Linked DNA regions of Homo sapiens: regions 1 and 3 are each linked to region 2. The links are contacts of gene promoters, found by promoter capture Hi-C in blood cells and fetal thymus (Javierre and others, 2016). All regions are on one chromosome and are shown on one strand. Each heading gives the region's core, a stretch centred on a gene start or on the middle of the fragment in contact. The rest is flanking DNA. Distances are from core to core; before and after follow the strand shown.

The links. Contacts are between HindIII fragments. The CHiCAGO score rates a contact against its expected background, and 5 or more counts as called.
Region 1: a contact is called between the fragment with the promoter of TWSG1 here and the fragment with the promoter of NDUFV2 in region 2, in 13 of 17 cell types (neutrophils, monocytes, fetal thymus and 10 more). The highest score is 21.2, in neutrophils.
Region 3: a contact is called between a fragment that was not itself captured here and the fragment with the promoter of NDUFV2 in region 2, in 2 of 17 cell types (total CD8 T cells and activated CD4 T cells). The highest score is 6.5, in total CD8 T cells.

What each region holds. Positions count from the first base shown.
Region 1 is chr18:9,333,199-9,336,370 of GRCh38, forward strand. TWSG1 (twisted gastrulation BMP signaling modulator 1) reads left to right here and starts at 1,575. Exons shown (of 5, transcript NM_020648.6): 1 at 1,575-1,722. TWSG1-DT (TWSG1 divergent transcript) reads right to left here and starts at 1,271. Exons shown (of 3, transcript NR_183523.1): 1 at 939-1,271. RefSeq lists a silencer at 1,276-2,065 and enhancers at 1,863-2,363, 2,126-2,175. The HindIII fragment of the contact is 11,774 bases long and covers 1-3,172 here.
Region 2 is chr18:9,100,930-9,104,571 of GRCh38, forward strand. NDUFV2 (NADH:ubiquinone oxidoreductase core subunit V2) reads left to right here and starts at 1,770. Exons shown (of 8, transcript NM_021074.5): 1 at 1,770-1,868. The coding sequence starts at 1,815. RefSeq lists a silencer at 1,498-1,857 and an enhancer at 2,130-2,839. The HindIII fragment of the contact is 6,653 bases long and covers 1-3,642 here.
Region 3 is chr18:9,236,314-9,239,875 of GRCh38, forward strand. The region is part of intron 8 of ANKRD12 (ankyrin repeat domain 12); the gene reads left to right. Among named protein-coding and RNA genes, the nearest start is that of TWSG1-DT, 96 kb to the right of the region's middle. The HindIII fragment of the contact is 429 bases long and covers 1,643-2,071 here.

The DNA.
Region 1 (3,172 bases), core at 325-2,824, 230 kb after region 2:
TTCCTAATTCACTTAACTAGTATATAATGCCAAGAATAAGATTCTTATACTTAAATTTGGGTATACCCTTAATTATTTCTCTAGGATAATTTTCAAGGATGATTTTTAAAACCCATATTTATTGTACAAAAGTGGGCTAACATCAGTAATGCAATCCACCCCCAGCCAATCAGCTGTTTTCATTCTGTTTCCTTCCAATCAACAAAGGTGGGTGGTAGGCATTTACGATTTACCAGCATAAGGGTTTGACACTAGGTCATCATTTCCAAGGGAAGGTGCCCCGCGGACGGTCTGGTCTAGCGGGCTCTAACTTAATCACCCTGGAATCTTCTTTAAAAAGCAAATTCCGGCCGGGCACTATGGTTCACACCTGTCATCCCAACGATTTAGGAGACCGCGGTGGGAGGATCGCTTGAGCCCCGAAATTTGAAACCAGCTTGGGCAACATAGCAAGACCTCCATATCTACAAAAAAATAAAATATTAGCCAGGCGTGGTGGTGCGCGCCCGTAGCCCCAGCTACTCGGGAGGCTGAGGCGGGAGGATTGCTTGAGCCTAGGAGGTGGAGGCTGCAGCGAGCCTGATGTTGTCACTGCCCTCCAGCCTGGTGAGAGTGAGACCTTGTCTCAAAAGAAAAAAAAAAAAAAGCAACCCAGAGTTGTGGGAAAGAACTGAGTGTCATTCTCAATGTTTTTAACCTACGTGCTAACCGCGCACCTTCTACCTAGGCTGCGCGACCTCCGCGCCCGGATCCATGGCGCCCCCTCTTCTCGACTCCCGATGCAGAGCTCCGATGCAGAGCTCAGCGCCAGCCACTCACAAGGAGCCTGGCAAGTTTTATCGAATTGGTGAACGAAGTTCGAAAGCTCTACCCTTGGAGATCCTTATTCAGTAGGTCTGAGGTAGACCTAGGAAACGCGCATTTTATATAAATCCTACCTCTGACGGCAAACGACAAGGGGTTCACGTGCCAGCTCTCCTCGGCGACGCGCTAGGCTACTCAGCGCCCCGAGCCTCGGCCTCGCATCGCTAGAACCCGGCCATGGCCGCTTCCTTACAGGGCAGCTGTGAGGAGTCCTGAGGAATTTTAGTACACGGCATATCCTCAGCGTAGTGGCTAGCACATCACAAGGCTTTAATCTTAACACTGTTGATCTTAACACTGCAACTGAGGGGGCCCGGAGAATGGGCCTGACAGGAGGGTCTGTCGGAACCTGAGGGACTGGGGATCCCGGTGCGGAGAAGCGCGAAGGGAAATCGCGTTGAGCAGCTGGGGTGGGTGCGCCTGGGGGCGTGGCCTGCGGGCCGGCGGGCGGGCGGGAGCCTGCGGTGGAGGCGTGGCACGAGGGAGGGGCGAAACCGGGTGGCGCGGAGGGGGCGTGGCGTTGGGAGGGGCGGGGGGAGTGGGCGGGGCCGAGATGGGGGCGTGCGCGCTGACAGGAGCGCCGGGGGAGTGAGAGACGCCTCCTGGCGGGAGCTGGCGGCTGTGGACCCCAGCGGGGGCGGAGGGGAAGAGGGGAGCAGGGGCGGGGAGCAAGGAGCCGGGAGGAGGGCGGCGGGCGGGCCTGTCTCTTTAAGGTGCCCGAGGCTCGCGGGCGCTGCGCTGAGGGGACGGCGGGAGGCGCGGCCTGGCCTCGCACTCAAAGCCGCCGCAGCGCGCCCCGGGCTCGGCCGACCCGGCGGGGATCTAGGGGTGGGCGACTTCGCGGGACCGTGGCGCATGGTGAGTGGGAGCGGCTGGGGGGTTGTGCAGCCTCTTGGCCTCTTGGTTGGGAAGGGGCCGGGCGCCGAGCTCGGCCCTCTAGAGGCCCGGGGCCGCGGCGAGCTTCGCGGGGGCCGGGAGAAGCCTGGGCCCGGCTGCGCGGAGGACAAAGTGGGGGTGCTGGGCGCGGGCGCACAGGCCGGACGCCGGGAGCCAGCAGCATCTCTGCGCCGCTTTGGTCCAGACCATCTCTGGGCCGGCCCGCGTCCTCCGCAGCCCGCGTCGGCCGAGCCGGGGTGGGGGTGGTTCCGGGTGCCCGGTCCCCCACACCGCTACCGGCCTCTGCCTCGCGGGGCGTCCGGCGCCTTCGGGGCCCTGGCACCGCTCTACAGAGGCTCGGCTCTGCCCTGGTCGCTGTCAGTGCCATCTCCCTTAACGAGAAACTTGGGCGTGATGTATGCGAAACAATTTTGATGCATGATGGTTTCTAACTCCTTAGGAAAAGATAAGTCCTTTAATTCTATTACCTGATTTCGACATGGTCGTAGTTACTTGAATACTTTTTCCAGTGAAATTTGGGGAGTAAGATGAATTTGTGGAACATTTCATAAGACAACCGTAAAAGATGGGAAAGGGGGGAAATCCCAGTTTTCATGGTTGTAGGATGAAAACTAGTTCCACGACAGTTAGTCTCCAAATAACCTTATTTGGCCTCCGCAAATATGTACTGGTTGCTCCAGAAATCATCCTACTTGGTATGCGGCGTTAGATACATTAGAAAATTAGTTACTAACGGTCTTTAGGGAATGCTTTGTGAGCCTCAGTAACGATCACCAGGGTTTTCTCTTTCAAAATTGACTCATACCAGGTCCAAAGCCCTTTATTCTTTTCACCCTTTTATTATTTTTCCTTTAATGTACTTTGTAACACTTAGAATAAAAGTTTAGAGTAATCATAAATGCCCCCATAAACTCACTATTTATCCCTCTTACGTCAGTAGTCATTTATTTTAATTTATTATGTTTGATAGGGAGGTGTTTTAACCTGAAGAAATGATATCTTCCCGTATTTAAAGTTTAATAACTGTATACTGTTTGGCCCCTGTCAGACTGTGTTTGTGCTAGTCTTTTTTCCTTCTTCTTTTTGAACTGTAGTATCTTCTTAATAACTTTGAAGAATGTGTGGTACTAATAGAATTAAAAGAATATCTTGGCCGGGCGCGGTAGCTCACCCCTGTAATCCCACACTTTGGGAGGCCGAGGCGGGTGGATCACCTGAGGTCAGGAGATCGAGACCAGCCTGGCCAATATGGTGAAACCCCGTCTCTACTAAAAATACAAAAATTAGCGGGGCGTGGTGATAGGCTCCTGTGATCCCAGCTACTCGGGAGGCTGAGACAGGAGAATCGCATGAACCCGGGAGGCGGAGGTTGCAGTGAGCCGAGATTGCGCCACTGCACTCCAGCCTGGGC
Region 2 (3,642 bases), core at 520-3,019:
TTCTCCATCCATGGAGGTTATAATCTGGTCGTAAATGTAGTAGTGAAAGTGCGGGCAGGCATATTTTGGGACGGTATCTTGAGGACTAATCTGGATTGGGAGTCAGAGAATGCCCTAATAAAATCCAGTAAAAGCATGCATTACAGATTCAAAAAGAATCCATATAATGTCTATCTCATCCATCAAGTATTTGTGACATGTTTTGGCTTTAGTTGTATAAGAACAGTAAGTATGTGCACAATAGTGTTAGGTGTATAAGTATTTTTATTTTTTATTTTTTATTTTTGAGACGGAGTCTCGCTCCGTCGCCCAGGCTGGAGTGCAGTGGCGCGATCTCGGCTCACTGCAAGCTCCGCCTCCCGGGTTCACGCCATTCCCCTGCCTCAGCCTCCCGAGTAGCTGGGACTACAGGCGCCTGCCACCATGCCCGGCTAATGTCTTGTATTTTCAGTAGAGACGGGGTTTCACCGTATTAGCCAGGATGGTCTCGATCTCCTGACCTCGTGATCTGCCCACCTCAGCCTCCCAAAGTGCTGGGATTACAGGCGTGAGCCACGCGCCCGGCCAGGTGTATAAGTATTTAGGTAACTTTATAACAAAATACATTTACATTAAGGGCCAGACTGTCTTTTCCTTTTAAAGGGAAATACTGAAGCTAATTTAGGAGAGGCAAACTAACATAAAATATAAGGCAAAGGAGTGGGAACCAAGGCATTTGGTATCTATTTCTAGCTCACTGGGCAGCAGTCCTCTGTGTCTTGAATTCTGTGATTTGCGAAATATGATTCATAGGGGTTGCAATGGAATATTTCTGAGTTTTTAAACTAATGAGGGATAAATTTTTAAAATCCCTGTGCTGCTGTGAATGTTCTAGAAATTATTCACAAGTTTATTATAGCAAAGAAAATGGGCAAAAGGAAGGGGGTGGGTACAGGACGTGACACTCCAGAAAAGAAGGCAGTGACGTAAAAAATCAAGAGGAAGTCCACACCAGGAAATAGTGCTGTGCACATTAGAGCTGTTACTGAATAAATACTTGTTGGAATTTCCAGAGATAACCAAACAAACATGAAGAAGGAAGTGGGTTTTTTTTTCAGCTTTATTATGGAAAATATCTAATATGTACAAAAGTACCGAGAATAGTAAATAAGAACGACCATGCAGCTTCTATGGCCTTACTTAACGGCCAACTTGCTTTATTTTTCACCTCCCGCTCCCCACTATTCTCAAGCAAATTCCAGACATCATACCATTTAACCCCTAAATATGTCGCACATATCTCTAATGCAAAAGATTGGGAACCAAGACATTTGGTGTCTATGGCTAGCACACTGGATAGCAGCCCTCTGTGTCTTGAATTCGTAACATGTAGAATAAGATTTATAGTGGGTTGCAACCCGACTTTATTTTTAACTAACAGCAATATAAGAGGAGGTGGCTAATCCTCACAAGGCTCTCCATGAGGGAAGCTCACCCCTATAAATCCAGGCGGGCGCTTCGTTACCCAGGAGCCCAAGGTGCAGCTCCGGGACGCTTCTTTTCAAGGCCGGGACCCCTGCAGCGGCCCGTAGGACACCTCCCTTTCCGAGCACGGACTGGTCCCCGCCCCTCCCCCGGGAAGTCTCCGCCCACAGGGCCCCAGCAGCCCCCGCGCGCCCTCGCTCCCTCCCGTCAGCCCCCGCCCCTCGGCGAAGGGAGCGGCGTGCCGTCCGGGTCGCCTAGGCCTGGGGTCGGGAGCGCGCACGCTGTGCGCCCTGGGCGCGCTCGGGATTCTCGCCTGGCGCGGCTGGGGAAGGTGAACAGTGTGGCCCGCCATGTTCTTCTCCGCGGCGCTCCGGGCCCGGGCGGCTGGCCTCACCGCCCACTGGGTAAGGAGGCTCAAGCTGAGCCCGGCGCTGCCGCCGCCCTTCTCTTGCTCTCCGTGTCTCCCTTAGTTTTGGGCGCAGGAGAGCCCTGGGCTCTGCACGGGCCTGCAGGCGGCGGCAAGGACACTGCGGCCTTAGCCCTCTTAGGGAGGCCGCTGCAGCCCCACCGTGAGAAGCCCCGAGGGAGGGTTGCCATACTGGGAAGTGTACTCCTAGTTTGGTCGAGGAGGACAGAAAAGAGGGGCTGCTTGGTGATATATATATATATGTTTGTTTGTTTTTGCTGTTTTGCTGTAGCGCAGAATCTAGGCCTGCTCTGGCCAGATCAGTTTCGAAGACCGTCGCTCCGAAGGAGGCACCTCTCGTTTCAAGCCTAGTGACCTCGATGCTTTTAGGTTGCAGCATACTGGAGAGCTCTGGCTTGCTTCGTGAAGGCTTAGGGAGAACTTCATTAGGGCTGGAAAAGGGTGGCCAATGTTTGATTTACTGCAGTTGTGCTTTGCATATCGGAAATGCTGGCTAAATAAACGGTATCAAACTAACTCTGAAAGAACGGCGCCGCAAATAACAGCACCCAATTAAAGAACCACAGGATTTTAGAGATTAAATGATCTTTTTGAGATCCAAGTACATCTCATGGTAGGCAAGGAAATTGAATTGCAGAGAAGTTGAAACACTCCTTCACGTTAATCTAAAAATGCAGATTTCCAGAAATGTCGATTATAACAACAGGGCCTGTTACACAAGTAATACTGGAAAGAAGCCTTAGTTTTGTTTGTTTTCTAAGAGTGAAATAGGTTAAGTCAGTTCTCAGCAAGAGGGAGCTAGTGTATATTCATTGAGAATGAATTCAGGGCTTTAGAGTTAGACTCGAGTTTGGATGTTAGCTTAACTGCCTTTTGTGGCTCTATGACTTTGTGCTGTTAATCTTCCTCAGTTTCTTCAGTTGTAAAATGGGAATATTCCTTTTTGCAGAGTTCAGTCTTTCAATAAACATTTGAAGTCTTACTGTACGTCATGCACTGCTGAGCTCTAGTTAACAGTGTGGATAATAATGATAGTCATTTGATAACTGTTTTCTGTATGCCAAGCACCGAGTTAAATATCTACATTCCACATCTCATTTTTGAGGCTGGTATTACTTTTTCCTCATATTACAGATAAGGAAAAGATTTAGACAGTTCCCGTTCTTTTGGAATTGATAGTCTCATGTAAGAGGAACTTTAAGGTTGAGACAATGTAAAAGTACAGTGTTAGAGAGATGAATAGGGTCATCCAATGTGGTTTCAAGGTGCATAAGATTTTTCCTGAAGGTAATACTAACAGATTGGGCATGGGGTCCGAGGGTATTCTAGGTGGAAAGGACAACTTAAAGTCTTGTTGGCAAGAAAAAGATCGGTATGTATGAGAAGCCACCCTCTGCTGTTGGAGGTAAGGTGTGTTCCCAAATGAAATAAGGGAGAGACAGGGGCCAGATATTGGAGCTCCTGGCGTGCCATACTAAAGAATTTGATTTTAGAGGCCGTCAGGAGTCAGTGAAAGGTTTTAAAGTAGAGGAATAAGATGTGGTTTCTGTTTTGGATAGGTCACTGGATAGGACTGAGGGTGGAATGGGTTTGATTTGGACCCAGAAACAGGGAGACTAAGTAGATAAGAGGCTCTTGCAGAATGCTAGGTGAAAGATGATGAGGATCAGACATGGTAGAAAGAAAAGAAATTAGAGTGCTTGTAGATTTTGTTTCTTTTGTTTTTGAGGCAAAGGGGCTAGAAGTATAAA
Region 3 (3,562 bases), core at 607-3,106, 140 kb after region 2:
CCCTCCAGGATTGCCTAGAAAAGTGAGAGAATGATAAATTTAAACAAACAGAATGTTAACCCACCTAAGTGAAACTATTAGAGGAAACAGCTTCAACAACAACAAAAAATGGGCACTTAAGAAAATTCAAGTACAGCATAAAAATACTTTTCTGAGCTTAAAACTCAGTTGATGAAGTGGGGGATAGTCACTGTGGAGACTTAAATTATTCAACTGGAGACTTCAATTATTAGACTGGAAAAATAAGATAAATCTCCAAAACATAGAGCAAAAATTCAAAGAGAATCATGAAAGAAAAGGTAAAAGACCTAAGGAATAGATCCAGGAGACGTAACAGAACTAACGTGTATAATAGTTATTTATAGGAATTTAAAAAGGAGAAAAACAGATGGAAGATAGATAATATTTATGCAAATAATAGAAGAAAATTTTTCTGAGCCGAAAAAGCCTATCAGTTTTGAAGTTCACTGAGCTTCAGATTGATTTGATGAAAACACACATATATACCCCTTGACATACATTGGCCAGATTCTTTAGCTATGAAGTGACAAGTTATGGGCAAAGAAATACTGTCAGGTTGGCACTGGACTTCAGATTTGCAATACTGGAAGATAGACTACTGAGAGAAAAGAACTGCAACATAAGAATCCTGTACCTGGCTGAGATACTACTCACCTGTCAGGGTAAAAGGATAATTGCAAACATTTAAAGATTTTAAAAGCATATAAATACATATATTTTCTTACACATTTTAAAAAAAGAAATAGTGGGAGAATAAACCAACAACTTATGAAGTGGTTACCTAATAAGGAAAGGGTTAAAAAGGGAGGTTATGCAAATTTTACCATCTTTTTGAAAAACAGTCTAGCAACAGCTAACAAAACTCAAGAGTCCTAGAGATACATACTTGAAATATCTATCAATGAAATGATAGGATATGAACAAGATCTTCAAAATGATACATGGATGGGGTGAATGGAGGTGTGAATTGGTCAAAGATTGATGGTCACTGGAGCTGAGACAAATTGTCTCTATAACATTCTGTCCACTTGTGTGTAAGTACAAAATTTACCATCACAAAAATGCTCTTAAAAATACTCATGCTTCATGATCTAGCAGTCAAACTTGTGGGAGTATCCTATGTTTATTATAACATTCTTTTTAGGGGCAAAAAATATAGCCATCACTAGGGGATTGGTTGATTAAATCAATGTATAGCCTCACCATAAACTATTGCACAGCCATGGAAAAGCATGTCAGTGCTGTGCCTGGAGTTGTAGGGTTACTTGAAGACATTTTTATAAGGTATTGTTGAGTTCAAAAAATCAAGAATAGTTATATCTCATTTTTGTAAAATGAACAGTGTTTTTAAAATCTGTATGTATGTTTACGTACATGTTTGTGTAAAATTTTATTAGCATGGAGCGAAATCTGGAAGGATGTATACCAGGCCATTAAGGAGACGTGTCTTAGGTAGCTAGTGGCAGAGGAGATGATGATTTGGATGGATGGAAAGGTCAAAGTACAGTCGGACACAATCATTGATAATTTTTTTACACATATATTTACAAGACTCAACAAAATCTTCTCCTGCCCTGCATCCCCGTTTATTTAATCATTTATGCCCTTCCCTTCACAACTAAGCTTCTTAAGGTACATTGTAGACTGACTCCTCCATGGAACCTAGTTTTACTAAGATTGCACATGCTGTCACTGCCAGACCCCTCAGTGGTATTTCAGTCCTTATCCTTTGAAATTCTCCATAGAATTTGACACTGTTGACCATATTCTTCCTAAAATTCTCTTGCCTTGGTTCTTGGGACAAAGTTCTCCTTGGCTTTCGTCCAGCTCCCCAGACTCTTCCTTCTCAATTTCCTCCTAGATTCTTGTCTTCGTAACTTCCTCATTTCCTTTCCATAAACACCCCTGTGTTGGTTTTCTCAAGATTTTTACTTTCTGGACCCTCTTCTCATGCTGCATACTCTCTCAAGTAAATTTCACCCACACTTAGAGTTTTTACTACCATTTATGTAATGATTTTAAAATACATCTATCTCAGACATTTCTCTTAAGCTTCAAACTTACATATTTGGCTGTTCTCTGAATATTTCCACCTGGATTTCCTCAGCAAAATCTCAAAAATCAGCATACCCCCACCATTACACTCCTCTTCGTGTTCTATCTTAATTAGTGTAACATCATTCATCTGCACATATAAGTCATACACTCGAGAGTCATCTAAACTCCTCTTCTTCCTTTTCCTTCTTTCAATTATTCAACAGCTGTTTTTGAGCACTCATTATAGGTTAGGCATTGCTTAGGTACTGAGGATACAGCTGATTAAGAAAATGGAGAAAACATAAAACATAATTGACTCCTGTCAATTTCAGCTTTCAAAATTTTTGTAAGTCCATCTTCCAGCTAAACTGAGAGTCCTTTGAACGTTTTTGTCCAGTCTAAACTGGAATAAAGATCATAATAGCTGAAATTGCATTAACTTCGGTGAGAAAGAGAGTAATATTTTAAGGCTGGGTGCAGTGGCTCACGCCTGTAATCCCAGCACTTTGGGAGGCCGAGACGGGTGAATCACCTGAGTCCAGGAGTTCAAGACCATCCCAGGCAACATGGTGAAACCCCATCTTTACAGAAAATACAAAAATTAGCAGGGCATGGTGGCACGCACCAGGAGTCCCAGCTATTCGGGATGGGGCTGAGGTAGGAGGTTCACTTGAGCCTGGGAGGTCGAGGCTGCCATGAGCTGTGTTTGCACCACTGTACTCCAACCTGGACAACAGAGTGAGACCCTGTCTCAAAGGAAAGAAAATAAGATTTTAAAGGTAAAAATTGTTTATATGATATGTTAACTGTTATGCTATTCTAAATATTACATATTTGGCTGCCCTCTGGATATTAAGAAATCTCAAAAATCGCTACTAATTCTTTTAATTGCTGTCGCTTCTGAAAATTGTAGCTATGAAAAGCAGCTTTGTTATAAACTTGCTTTTAGAAAGAAGTGCTGCAACAAATTTTCCCACGGAAGAAGGGAGGTATTTTATTTCAACTTACATGTTTAATTAGTGCAGAACACACCTTCTAGAACCTTTTTGATTTTCACTGATCTTGATTGTTTCATGTGTTCATCAGCTATGTATTGATTTTTCAGAATATTTATTTTCCACATGGTGAATGTGCCTGAATTATTGCTTGGTCAAAGTCCCTCAAGGAATGATACAAAAATCATCAGTAAGTATCATATAAAGATTTTGGAGTTGCTGAAAAAGACTGATGAAAATACCCAAAATTTATTACTTAATTTACATGAGGTCCTTGTTAGATTTAACTGTACCAAACTTCATCCAATCTAAATTCAGAACATACTAATATATAATCATGTAACTGCCCATAGATGTTTGTATATATGAAGCCAGATAGCATTATCTAATAATATAGCACATCATCTATGTGACAGATACACTTTAAGTGTTGAAAGTTAAAGAATAACCAAGATTATTAATTTCAGAACTTAATAAATTTGGAGTAACTAAGAGGGTATCATGTACGT